Regions from separate parts of the Homo sapiens genome. Here all the other regions are linked to region 2. Evidence: promoter capture Hi-C in 16 types of primary human blood cells and fetal thymus (Javierre and others, 2016). All regions are on one chromosome and are shown on one strand. Each heading gives the region's core, a stretch centred on a gene start or on the middle of the fragment in contact. The rest is flanking DNA. Distances are from core to core; before and after follow the strand shown. Region 1 holds the start of OR2B2 (olfactory receptor family 2 subfamily B member 2). Region 2 holds the start of TRT-AGT6-1 (tRNA-Thr (anticodon AGT) 6-1). Region 3 holds the start of H4C6 (H4 clustered histone 6). Region 4 holds the start of H2BC7 (H2B clustered histone 7).

Evidence for each region. Contacts are between HindIII fragments. The CHiCAGO score rates a contact against its expected background, and 5 or more counts as called.
Region 1: the fragment with the promoter of OR2B2 here is called in contact with a fragment that was not itself captured in region 2 in 5 of 17 cell types (monocytes, non-activated CD4 T cells, neutrophils and 2 more); the score reaches 8.9 in monocytes.
Region 3: a contact is called between the fragment with the promoter of H4C6 here and a fragment that was not itself captured in region 2, in 1 of 17 cell types (total CD4 T cells). The highest score is 5.4, in total CD4 T cells.
Region 4: the fragment with the promoter of H2BC7 here is called in contact with a fragment that was not itself captured in region 2 in 3 of 17 cell types (total CD4 T cells, total B cells and naive CD8 T cells); the score reaches 6.6 in total CD4 T cells.

What each region holds. Positions count from the first base shown.
Region 1 is chr6:27,910,869-27,913,952 of GRCh38, reverse strand. It overlaps OR2B2 (olfactory receptor family 2 subfamily B member 2), which reads left to right and starts at 1,557. Exons shown (of 1, transcript NM_033057.2): 1 at 1,557-2,768. The coding sequence starts at 1,634. The coding sequence ends at 2,707. The HindIII fragment of the contact is 2,345 bases long and covers 253-2,597 here.
Region 2 is chr6:27,158,907-27,162,291 of GRCh38, reverse strand. TRT-AGT6-1 (tRNA-Thr (anticodon AGT) 6-1) reads right to left here and starts at 21; the gene lies at 1-21. The HindIII fragment of the contact is 878 bases long and covers 1,347-2,224 here.
Region 3 is chr6:26,238,315-26,241,685 of GRCh38, reverse strand. H4C6 (H4 clustered histone 6) reads right to left here and starts at 1,293. Exons shown (of 1, transcript NM_003540.4): 1 at 893-1,293. The coding sequence starts at 1,260. The coding sequence ends at 949. RefSeq lists enhancers at 1,057-1,106, 1,567-1,666. The HindIII fragment of the contact is 5,393 bases long and covers 1-3,173 here.
Region 4 is chr6:26,197,933-26,201,168 of GRCh38, reverse strand. It overlaps H2BC7 (H2B clustered histone 7), which reads right to left and starts at 1,653. Exons shown (of 1, transcript NM_003522.4): 1 at 1,181-1,653. The coding sequence starts at 1,610. The coding sequence ends at 1,230. H2AC7 (H2A clustered histone 7) reads left to right here and starts at 1,876. Exons shown (of 1, transcript NM_021065.3): 1 at 1,876-2,385. The coding sequence starts at 1,926. The coding sequence ends at 2,318. It also overlaps a transcript of H3C4 not described here. RefSeq lists enhancers at 1,212-1,301, 1,293-1,912, 2,072-2,251, 1,185-2,384, 2,432-2,501 and 3 more. The HindIII fragment of the contact is 6,177 bases long and covers 1-1,715 here.

The DNA of each region.
Region 1 (3,084 bases), core at 308-2,807, 750 kb before region 2:
TGTTTAGAGCAGGGGTGTCCAATCTTTTGGCTTCCCTGGGCCACATTGGAAGAAGAAGAATTGTCTTGGGTCTCACATAAAATACAGCAACACTAACAATAGCTGATGAGTTTTTTTTTAATCATCAGTGAATGTCATGATGTTTTAAGAAAGTTTACAAATTTGTGTTAGGCCACGTTCAAAGCCATCCTGGGCTGCGTTCAAAGCCATCCTGGGCTGCATGCAGCCCGTGGGCCTCAGGTTGGACAAGCTTGATTTAAAGCATCCACCTGCCTGTTAGTCACTGAGTAGCCATCTCGGTTATCAGATCGTCAGAACACAGAGGGGTGAGTACACTAGAATAAGGTGTTTTGAAGAGAAAAAAAGAGAGGGACACCACATTCACATAACATGTATTACAATAAATGGGGGTCTGGAGCTGTTATACTTGCTGCATTTTATTAATTATTGTTCTTAATCTCTTACTGTGCCTAATTTATAAATTAAACGTTATAGTTGTGTATGTATTAAAAAACATAGTATATATAGGGTTTGGTACTACCCACAGTTTCAGGTTTCTATCCACTGGTGGTCTTGGAATGTATCCCCCATGGATAAAGGGGGAACCACTGTATCATCTTCATTTTACAAATGAGAATTGTGGAGATCAAAGGGTTAGAAGCATTCCAATATAATGAATGTAACTAATTAGAGAGGGTAGGGATATGAGACCAGCCTGTCACCTTCAAATATCATATTACTAAGGAATCTATACAAATTCTATGAGCTTCTAGAACGAAAAGGATATGTCTCCTTAAATTGTGTCTGATAACTTACTAGATACTGTCTACATGGCTTTTTTGAGGGAAGGGGAATAATGGGAGGTGGCTTTAACTAATGTTAACTGATTTCTACAATCAGGGAATCTCGCTGGCCTTGAAGAGAAATTAGAATGAATTCAAATGACAGGAAACTGTATCTACATCTACCTCACAGTAGATATCTAGGTAGGAAGAATGAGAAAAATACATTTACAAACAGTAAAATATCAAAGGATACATTATGTGAATTTGGAAACTGAAAATATGGCTTAAGATTTTTGAAATTAGGCTGGGCACAGTGGCTCACGCCTGTAATCCCAGCACTTTGGGAGGCTGAGGTGGGCAGATCACCTGAGGTTGGGGTTTGAGACCAACCTGACCAACGTGGAGAAACCCCATCGCTACTAAAAATACAAAATTAGTCGGGGTGGTGGCACATGCCTGTGATCCCACCTACTGGGGAGGCTGAGGCAGGAGAATTGCTTGAACCTGGGAGGCGGAGGTTGCGGTGAGCCGAGATGGCGCCATTGCACTCCAGCCTGGGCAAAAGAGTGAAACTCTGCCTCAAAAAAAAAAAAAAAAAAAAAAAAAAAGATTCTTGAAATTCGATTCAATTTGCTAATATGCTGTTACAGATATATAAACACTTTTTAAATACTTGGATGGATAAATATTTATATTTTTATCAATACTTTTTTCACATTATTAATTGGATCAGTCTGTAATTTTATGTAAATTGATAGCAAAATGATTATAGCTGACAAAATCAGGAAGTGTGTTGTTAACTTCCTGACTTCTTATATTTCAGAGAACGAAGAGTTGAACCATTTAACATGAATTGGGTAAATAAGAGTGTCCCACAGGAGTTCATTCTGTTAGTTTTCTCAGATCAACCATGGCTAGAGATTCCACCCTTTGTGATGTTTCTGTTTTCCTATATCTTGACAATCTTTGGCAATCTGACAATAATTCTTGTGTCACATGTGGATTTCAAACTCCACACCCCTATGTACTTTTTTCTTAGCAATCTCTCACTCCTGGACCTTTGCTATACCACAAGTACAGTTCCACAAATGCTGGTAAACATATGCAACACCAGGAAAGTAATCAGTTATGGTGGCTGTGTGGCCCAGCTTTTCATTTTCCTGGCCTTGGGTTCCACAGAATGTCTTCTCCTGGCCGTCATGTGCTTTGATAGGTTTGTAGCTATTTGTCGGCCTCTCCATTACTCAATTATCATGCACCAGAGGCTCTGCTTCCAGTTGGCAGCTGCATCCTGGATTAGTGGCTTTAGCAATTCAGTATTACAGTCCACCTGGACACTTAAGATGCCACTGTGTGGTCACAAAGAAGTGGATCACTTCTTCTGTGAAGTCCCTGCTCTGCTCAAGTTGTCCTGTGTTGACACAACAGCAAATGAGGCTGAACTATTCTTCATCAGTGTGCTATTCCTTCTAATACCCGTGACACTCATCCTTATATCGTATGCTTTTATTGTCCAAGCAGTGTTGAGAATCCAGTCTGCTGAAGGTCAACGAAAGGCATTTGGGACATGTGGCTCCCATCTAATTGTGGTGTCACTTTTTTATGGTACAGCTATCTCCATGTACCTGCAACCACCTTCACCCAGCTCCAAAGACCGGGGAAAGATGGTTTCTCTCTTCTGTGGAATCATTGCACCCATGCTGAATCCCCTTATATATACACTTAGGAACAAAGAGGTAAAGGAAGCCTTTAAAAGGTTGGTTGCAAAGAGTCTTCTTAATCAAGAAATAAGAAATATGCAAATGATAAGCTTTGCTAAAGACACAGTGCTTACTTACCTTACTAACTTCTCCGCAAGTTGTCCTATTTTTGTCATTACTATAGAAAACTATTGTAATCTCCCTCAAAGAAAATTTCCTTGACAAAAAGCTATATTTGTTTCTGTTGCCTAAACATTTTCATTGAACAAGCCCCCAGAATTGGCCTTCCAATGCACCAAAAACTGTAATCACAACATTTTCAAGGGTTGTCACACTTTACATCAATGTTTGTACAATTCAGTGTAAACTAGACCTTTCTGATCCAGAAATCATCTCTTCAGTAATACACACACGCACACACACATACATACATACACACACACACATAGAAACAAAGATGTAAAGGGAGCTTTTGAGAGGTTGCTTGCAAGGGTGTTAATAAAAAAAAAAGGAATTCTCAAATTATAGGCCTTTTAAAGACTTCAATTTTACATAGCTTATAATTTAATTCTCTCCAAATTGCTTTATTATTACTATTC
Region 2 (3,385 bases), core at 536-3,035:
GACCAGCTAAGCCACAGGGCCCCTGTTGGGCATATGTTCAGATATATCGTATTTATAACATTTTTGTAAAATGTATCAATTTGACAAAAGTGTACTTAATTTTGTGACAAAGAAAGCACATCTGTGTTTCTGAACCAGCAACAAAGCAGCAATTCCAACACTAAAAAAAATACTTTTCTTCAATGCAAGATTTCAGAATTTATTTCAAATTGAAATGAGTGAAATTTCTATTTCATGGTGACTATCTCCCCCTACAGGAAATATTGGATATCGCAACATATTTTAAATTTATTTCTCTGTTCGTGCATTCATTCTGTCCACAAATGTTGAGTCATTACTGCATTTCAGGTACTTTTCTAGGTATTGGAGAAAGAACATTGAATAAAACAGCAAAATTTTCTTCCATTATTGAATTTATGTTCTACAGGGAGATAAAACAACAACAAAAAACACCCCAAAACAAACTAACCAACTAAAAAAATCCAACAACAAACAAAAACACAAGTGATATGGAAACCAATCTCTTTACCGCTGGGTTATAGAACCCACGACACTACCTTCTGAGCTAATTCACTGCAATTGAGTAAAACCATTATGCTTCCTTCTATTTTATCTAATCTGGCACAAGAAAGTGAGCCTAGACGAGGACACAGTGATGTCGTGGAGATCTGTGGTCACCCTGCTTCCCACTTACCCAAACTAGGCACCTTGAGACCCTCTGTTTCAAAGACAGCTTTGGTCTCAACAGGAGATCTGCTGTTAGAAACAATGAGTTAGGTGTACACAGGGAGTTCTCCTGGATGGATATCTTTGCTTCTGTCATAGTCTTGTTCTGCTCATTTGCCTGCTGGGTTAAAATAGACTCAATTTCTAGACCCACATAGATTGTAAAACTGCGTGGATGATACAGAGAAGTAGAGAACAAAGTAGAGTACAATGTGATAGCCCTCACAGGATGCTGTGGGAACCTCTCACTTGGGCCTCACAGAGTTGCATGACCTTTTATCTCAGGTTCTTTGTCAGTTTAATGAATGCAGAAGGAGTCATGGAATGTTTAGCTGAATGCAGCTTAGCATGGGGAAAAGCAGATGAAACCAATATCCTGAAATATTTAAATAACTGCCTGGTGCTTTGCATATGCATTCATTAAGCATCCACAAAATGCAAGACCCTGGAAAGATGAGAAATTACTTAGGTTGAGGTTGAGTTTTTATTTTTTAACCAAGCCTGGTGTTGCTTCTGATTTATTTCCTGTGGGTCATGAACCTCTACTCACTACCTAGCTAATCACAAAGCCAGGTTATACCAATTTTTCAGCTTTATTGGCTGAGGTTTTTTGTGAAGCTTAGTTATGTATTCCCCGACTTCTGTTTCTCACTGACAGGTGTTTCATAAATCTTGGTATGTGTAAAACCCTGGAAGAAAAGCCCTTTGTTTCTCCTTTTGGAAATCTTTCCAAGATACAAGCAGACATTTCAACATAAAGTAGGTGCTGGAGTGGTGTGGCTACAGATAGATTGCTGCACCCTTGAGAGAAATTAACACTACGAAACCCCTGCTTAAAGTGTTTCATCCGGATTTCTGCTGACATTAGAAGGAAAGTTCTTTTCCTGATTCCCTGACTTTTGGGGCTATTCTTTCTAGAACCTACCTTTTCCCACAACATCTGTGTCTTCCCTAAACTTATGGCCTATCATAGCAAACATTTTGGCCAACATCCGCCTTATAAAAAGCCTTGCTCAGATCTTCAAATAAGCCTCAATACTGAGGACAGACAAAACCCTTCTTATTATTGTTAGAACTACCTTATCAGCATCAAAGAAGCACAGGATTGTAGTCAAGTTAAATAGATGCTGAGTCTGGTACCAGTCTTTGCAATATTACTACTGCATGAAGGCCTTCCACCACTTAAGTAGCAATGATATTTATTTATTTAGCTCCAAAAATGGCTTATTTTATTATTTTGTTTGTTTGTTTGTACCTTACTGAGCTAGTGCCATCATGCATTTACCACCCTTAAATCTTTAGAACAATCTTAGAAGGTGGTAACTTTCATTAATTTCCATGGAGAGATGAGAATGATAAAACATAGAAATATTAAAAAGTCATTTCAAGACCATGAATGCCATAGGTAGAGTAAAACAGTTTTCTTTCTGAAAATGTGGTTGGCAGACTGTGTAAGATACTTCCATACCAATATTAGTGCATTCATAAAATGCAAGCTTTTAATCTCACAATTCCCCTGTTTATACCAGATTTCTAGCAATGCTCACTCAAAGCTGCAAAACATTATTGTGAACCAGAGAACTTCACACCTCTAAGATAAACATGTGCTTTGCACTGAGTATCATATGGTACACGCCAAGCAAGCTCTCTACTTTTCGAGCAAATCATACAGCATGGGTTTTATTGAGCCCTATTACTCACTTGTCACTACAATTTTATTCTGTAATAGATCTAGGACCCTAGCTCTCTCACTAAGAGATAGCCTCTGAGTCAGAGTCCATAGATTTCTGCTACTCAGGCCAGTAAGATCTGAGAAAATGTGTTCTGGAGAATTGCAAGATCAAAATGTTTATTGCTTTAGCAGTTTTATCATTCACTTGTGGCAAAATAATTGACAAGAACTGATCCTTTAGGGTCAATACATACTTGATCCCTGTCTTCACTCTTGTAAGACTGAGTCAAGATAAAATAGACTAAAAAGAAAATTGAAGTAGAATGTGATACAAGTGAACATGAATAACCACTACAAATGCTATTAAATTACTGAGAAGAGGCCTAGAACCTGACCTGTTGGAGAGATGATATCCTACAGTATAAGGCAGCTCAGCTCAATTACAATATCTCTGAGTTTCAGAATCCATGTCAGCTGGATGGACAGTTGGAGAAGAAATGGGGGCTATTTTAGCCCCAAGAAGGAAAGAACAAATCTCTTTTGCTGAAATTTTTGATAAGTTGCTAAAAGTATGAGTATTCTTTTTTTTTGAGACCGAGTCTTACTCTGTCACTCAGGCTGGAGTGCAGTGGTGTGATCTTGGCTTACTGCAACTTCCACTGCCTGGGTTCAGGCAATTCTCGTGCCTTAGCCTTCCGAATAGCTGGGACTACAGGCCTATGCCACTATGCCAAGCTAATTTTTGTATTTTTAGTAGAGACGGGGTTTCACCATGTTGGCCATGCTGGTCTCGAACTCCCGACCTCAGGTGATCTGCCCGCCTCGGCCTCCCAAAGTGCTGGGATTATAGGCATGAGCCACCACACCTGTTTGAATACTAACCTTCCACCAGGGCCAGGAGGGACGAAGTGCCATTAATGTGTTCTCAGAGTGCTGTGCTACTAACTAGAACTGGGCTCATGGAAGCGCCTCTGGGGATCTGCCTGT
Region 3 (3,371 bases), core at 44-2,543, 920 kb after region 2:
GCCTCAGCCCTTGCAGATTAGCTGCGACAGCAGGCGTCCGCCACAACGCCGGGCTAACTTTCCTATTTAACTTTTTTAGTTGAGACGGAGTTTCACCATTTTGGTTGCCCAGGCTAGTCTCGAACTCCTGAGCTCTAGTAATCCGCCCGCCGTGGTCTCCCAAGGTGCTGTGATTCAGGCCTGAGGCACCGCGCCCGGACACAAGTAGTGGATTAAGTTTACCAGTAATTGATCTGTCCACAGCCGCCCTAAGATTACTCACGTTCTATGCCTAATAAATAACACTAAGGCCGGGCACGGTGGCTCACGCCTGCAATCCCTGCACTTTGGGAGGCCAAGAAGGGCGGATCACCTGAGGTCGGGAGTTCGAGACCAGCCAGACCAACACAGAAAAGCCCCTTCTGTACTAAAAATAAAAAATTAGCCAAGCGTGGTGGCGCATGCCTGTAACCCCAGTTACTCGGGAGGTTGAGTCAGGAGAACCGCTTAAACCCGGGAGGGGGTGGTTGCGGTGAGCCGAGATTGCGTCATTGCACTACAGCCTGGACAAGAGCAACTCCATCTCAAAAACTAAACATGTAATGCTAGTGTAGTTAAGTCCCAGCCACCTAACATAGGAGTAAATTTCAGAAACGTGGGAATAAAACACATCACATACGTCATAAAAGGCTGCTGGTATTCCCAAACCATTTCCACCATCTTTTCCTGTGAATGTTTGCGATCGAAATACCTGAACAAGTTTCTAATGTTTCGCCTTCCCTTTCTCCTTAGCACATCCGCCATCTTAGGAAGATCGCTAAAAACGGCTCGGTTTAACTCAGTTAGAATCCCAAATTTACAAAACGAAACCCAAGTCGTCATCAGTTACAGCCCTTCGTGTGACGAAGGAGGTGGCCCTGAAAAGGGCCTTTTATGGGTGAGCTGTTAAATAAAAAGCCGGGGTGAGGCTCAGCCACCAAAGCCGTACAGAGTGCGTCCCTGGCGCTTGAGCGCGTAGACAACATCCATTGCAGTGACTGTCTTACGCTTGGCGTGCTCCGTGTAGGTTACGGCGTCCCGTATCACATTCTCCAGGAACACCTTAAGAACACCGCGGGTCTCCTCATAAATGAGGCCCGAAATGCGTTTCACGCCGCCGCGTCGGGCCAAGCGACGGATGGCGGGCTTCGTGATGCCCTGTATGTTGTCACGCAGCACTTTGCGATGGCGCTTGGCGCCTCCCTTTCCTAAACCTTTACCACCTTTGCCTCTACCAGACATGATCGAAGACAAACAACAACTCTTAACTTTTGCAACTTTGCTACACACTGAAGCCCCTTATATATCAATTATGCGGACCTTTTTGGAGACTGAATTGGAGGGGCGGGAACGAAACCTCTGTCTCCGCCTTTTCCGTAACTTACTGGGCGTCCCCTACACTATTGCCTTGGGAAGGAAAGGGGGCGGTGAGGGTAGGGGAAATGCAAGTTGATTTGACTCCTTCCTGTTTCCTTGTTTGGGTCTTGAGTGTAGGTTTCTGTGTCTTCTAGTCCAGTGCCTGTGGGCTCTCGAACTGATAATGTCTGTCTCCTAAAATCCTTATTATTTGCAAAAAGGAGGCAGTAACGCTACACTTGTCTACCGAATGGATAGACAAGAGAATAAAATTATTATTTCTTTTGAAACAGTTTTGCTCTGCCCCAGACTGGAGTGCAGTGGCGTGATCTCGGCTCACTGCAACCTCCGCCTCTCGGGTTCGAGCGATTCTTCTGCCTCAGCCCCTGCAGTAGCTGCAACTACAGGCGCGCGTCACCACGCCCGGCTAATTTTTGTATTTTTAGTAGAGATGGGGTTTCGCCATGTTGACTAGGCTGGTCTCGAACTCCTGACCTCAGGTGATCCACCCGCCTCGGCCTCCCAAAGTTCTGGGATTACAGGCGCCTAGCTTTAATTTTTAAATGTGAAGATTCTTTGAAAATGTATTTTTACTAATTTTTTTTTTTTGATACGGGGTCTCACTCTGTTGCCCAGGCTGGAGTGCAGTGGCGCTATCTCGGCTCACTGCAACCTCCGCCTTCTGGGTTCAAGCGATTCTCATGCCTCAGCCTCACGAGTAGCTGTGATTTCAGGCACGCGTCGCCACACCTGGGTAATTTTTGTATTTTCTTAGTAAAGACGGGGTTTCGCCATGTTGGCCAGGGTGGTCTCGAACTCCTGACTTCAGGTGATCCACCCACCTTGGCCTCACAAAGTGCTGGGATTACTGGCGTGAGCCACCACGCCCGGCCATTTTTATTAATTCTTAAAATGTAGCAATACTTCTTAAATTTGGCCAATCATGAGACTTAGCGTTTGGCAGAGACATATACATTCACATCGTTTTTGGCATTCCTAATAAAGAAAGACCTCTAGTAAGGGAAACCAATATTAATTGAAGTTTCATTCTTAGTTTTTCAATGTATAATGCAATATCTGAGGTGTAAAGATAAGGAATCCCAGGCTTGAAGACATTATCCTCTAATAAATGGCATTGTATTGTTGGCTCGATTCTGGAGTCTCACTACCTTGCTACCTACCACTGCTTTCATGCCACTAAAGCATACATGGTAAATCATGGTGAATAAAGGTTTGTAAATTAACAAAAATAATACTAATAAATTCTGTGAAATACTGTCCTAATAAAAGATTCCGGAAGAAGTGTTCTACACACAGATCATAGGGTATGTGTAGTAGAAAAATTCAACATTAACTCTTACAGTCTACTGCTTCACATTCATTGCCTCCTATATACTGCAAGGGTAACTTAAAAATCCCGTCTCTGCTGGTGCCTAAAAGCAGTGAGAAGATTATTCATTTTGTGGAGTTAAGAGTCTACTTAAATTTTGGCTTAGGTTCAGTTACCTGTAGGAATAGACACAAGGATCTCAAGTGCTCTCCTTTTTGAGGTAGGCACCAAACAAGCATCATTCATTCATTCAACAATTTAATGTCCACTACATGCCAAGAATAGTGTACAAATACCAGGTTTACAAAGATAATCACATTTATTCTCTTAAAGAACTCAAAAGTTTAGTAAAGGGAAAAGTACACTCAGGGTTAGGGGGCAGATATCAGACCAGCATACTTCTACTTACTGTCAGGTATTTAAGGGCGGAGCAGCCATATCCCAGCTATACTGGCATCACTCTGAAGCTTGTTAGACATACAGAATTTCGGGCCCAACCCCAAATCAATGGAATTGATATTACATTTTTAATGAGATCTCTAAGTGGGTGGTAGGTATGCTCTTCCAAGTTTGAGAATAATTGTTTTAAAGCTCTGCTGTCCTATATTAGCCACTAGCAACATGTGCTCATTTTTATTTAAATTAATTTAAATTAAAAATTAATTTG
Region 4 (3,236 bases), core at 404-2,903, 960 kb after region 2:
GGTGGATCACCTGAGGTCAGGAGTTCGAAACCAGCCTGACCAACATGGTGAAACTCCGTCTCTACTAAAAATACAAAAAATAGCCGGGCATGGTGGTGCGCGCCTGTAGTTCCAGCTACTCGGGAGGCTGAGACGGGAGAATCGCTTGAACCCGGGAGCCAGAGGTTGCTGTGAGCCGAGATTGCGCCATTGCACTCTACTCTGAGCAACAATAGCGAAACTCCTCCTCAAAAAAAAAAAAAAAGTAATAATATAGAATACTATTCCTTTTTTCTTAACTGGGTTGAAATTCTAAGAATCTTTTATATATAATATTTTAAATATTTTTAAGATACAAAAACATTTTGTAAAAATTTTAAGTATTCTACACTGGATGCCATTCATAACAGTTTATGATCTTAAGTAAGGCTTGTAATTACCAAGAATACAGTAAAACTTCAGTATCTTTATATATGAGTATATAGAATAGAAAAATTGTATTTGTAAGTAGAATGACATAAATTATTTTTTCACTTAAAAATTACAACTTTTGCTTATTAGAATAAAATGAACACATATGAAGTCAACCCTGAAGGAAAAAAAGTCAAAAACAACTTTGAGGAAGTGACAAGAAAATATTTTAGGATTAGGGGTGTGTCTCATTACTCCCAAATGGTATTTTGCCAGTGGCCAAATTTTCTTTAACTAAACCAAGAACAATGTTGATTATTAGTGCTGCATCCAGGCTCGGGTGTTCACATTTTTTCAGTTTTCATGCACATTACTTGTCTTGCTTTCCTTATATTTTAAAGAATTTGATTACATTATTTTAACCAGCTAAATTCGCCAATGCTGCGATGACTAAACCGGAATTAAGGAAGACATTCCTTTCCCTCACACTATGTCAGTAGCAAAAGAGATATTTCAAAAGTTCTTTTCTTATGAAACCAATTTGACAAGGGACACATCACAGCACAACATAAGAAAAATGTGCTTATCAGCACAATGGGCTAGCCTTCTAACCAGCACTTGGGGTAAAACAAACATGCTACGGTTAAGTATAGCATTTTCCTTCAACCAGTCAAAAGAACTGTGGTCTAGACCTACACAGCAGCAACCCCCTCAAATGAGGATAAAACCAAACCTGTTGGTGGTAAACACGGAAAATATGCAGGTAATTACAACTCTATAGCTGAAAAAGTGGGTGGCTCTTAAAAGAGCCTTTGGGATTGGGTATGAAGACGTTAGAATTACTTAGAGCTGGTGTACTTGGTGACGGCCTTGGTGCCCTCTGACACGGCGTGCTTAGCCAGCTCCCCGGGCAGCAGCAGGCGTACGGCCGTCTGGATCTCCCTGGAGGTGATGGTGGAGCGCTTGTTGTAATGCGCCAGGCGGGAAGCCTCGCCAGCGATGCGCTCGAAGATATCGTTGACGAAGGAGTTCATGATGCCCATGGCCTTGGATGAGATGCCGGTGTCGGGGTGGACCTGCTTTAGCACCTTGTACACGTACACGGAATAGCTCTCCTTGCGGCTACGCTTGCGCTTCTTACCATCCTTCTTCTGCGCCTTGGTCACCGCCTTTTTGGAGCCCTTTTTTGGAGCAGGAGCGGACTTAGCAGGTTCAGGCATGATAAATAAACACTTCGTCCACAACCTAAAGAGAAATGCAAGTGTCCTCACTCTGCAGCTGGTAATATTTGTAGAGCTCCTATCGTAAACTGGCATTTAAAAGCTTACACATTGATTGGATGAATTGTCTCTGTGTGCCCTGTGGTATGCAAATTAGGTGATTCTAGCGTTTCTTTGCAATTGGTTGGTTGTTCTAGCCAATCAAATAGCGTTATTTACAATTCGACCTCCAAGTATAATAGTTTCTCACTTGCTAACAAAATTCACTTTTACATTTTTGTCTTCATTGCTTAACATCGTTTTTAAGAATTCAAAATGTCCGGACGCGGCAAGCAAGGCGGAAAGGCCCGAGCTAAGGCTAAGACCCGCTCTTCGCGGGCCGGACTCCAGTTCCCTGTGGGCCGCGTACACCGCTTGCTCCGCAAGGGCAACTACTCCGAGCGAGTCGGGGCCGGCGCGCCAGTGTATCTGGCGGCGGTGTTGGAGTACCTGACCGCCGAGATCCTGGAGCTGGCGGGCAACGCCGCCCGCGACAACAAGAAGACCCGCATCATCCCCCGACACCTGCAGCTGGCCATCCGCAACGACGAGGAGCTAAACAAGTTGCTGGGTAAAGTCACAATTGCTCAGGGCGGTGTTCTGCCCAACATCCAGGCTGTACTGCTCCCCAAGAAGACTGAGAGTCACCACAAGGCCAAGGGCAAGTAAAACGAGAACTCTTATATTGGCTTTTTAAGGAAGCAGTCTTAACAAAGGCTCTTTTCAGAGCCACCCATGTATTCCTTAAAAGGGCTCACATTTTCTGTGTAAATAGCTATTTTGCAGTTTTCTTTAATAATTTTTCCATTTATAAGTGGGTGTTCTTAACACTGAATCGTGAAACTAACCGTCCATTTTAAAGATGCCATAAAAATACATAAGCAAATTGGCGGGGCGCGGTTCCTTACGCCTGTAATCCCAGGACTTTGGAAGGCCAAGGTGGGCGGATCACAGGGTCAGGAGTTCCAGGACAGCCTGACCAACATGGTGTGAAGCCCCGTCTTTACTAAAAATAAAAAAATTTGTCGGGCGTGGTGGCGCGCGCCTGTAATTTCAGCTATTTAAGAGGTTGAGGCAGGAGAAAATGTTGAACCCCGGAGGCGGAGGTTGCAGTGAGTCGAGATCGCGCCACTGCACTCCAGTTTCGGCGACAGAGCGAGACTGTCTCAAAACAAACAAAAACCCAAAAAAGCAAACTAATTAAAATGCAAAGAGACTTTATGTCACATGTAATTTAAATCGATCAATGCAGCGGCTCGTTAGGATTGCAAAGCTGTTAAAAGGCCTGAGACATACAGGAGAGAAGTTAATGTTTGTCAGTGTTTACATTTACATAAAAATATAGTTAGTGACTTAAAGCAACAGAACCAGAACAAATGTTTTATTGTCTTTTGTATGCATCTTAATGATACGAAATAACCTGTAATTTGTAAGTATTTTTTGGGTTTGTTTTTGCAAGCCACTTTCAACTCTACTGAGCTAACCCTAATTAATTATCAATAGGAATACAAACCTACATCCCCTGGAGCCAGACGGCCCTTAGGTGGAGCTTCTTAGCACAGTGTTCAGCATGACTAAAAGGGCACA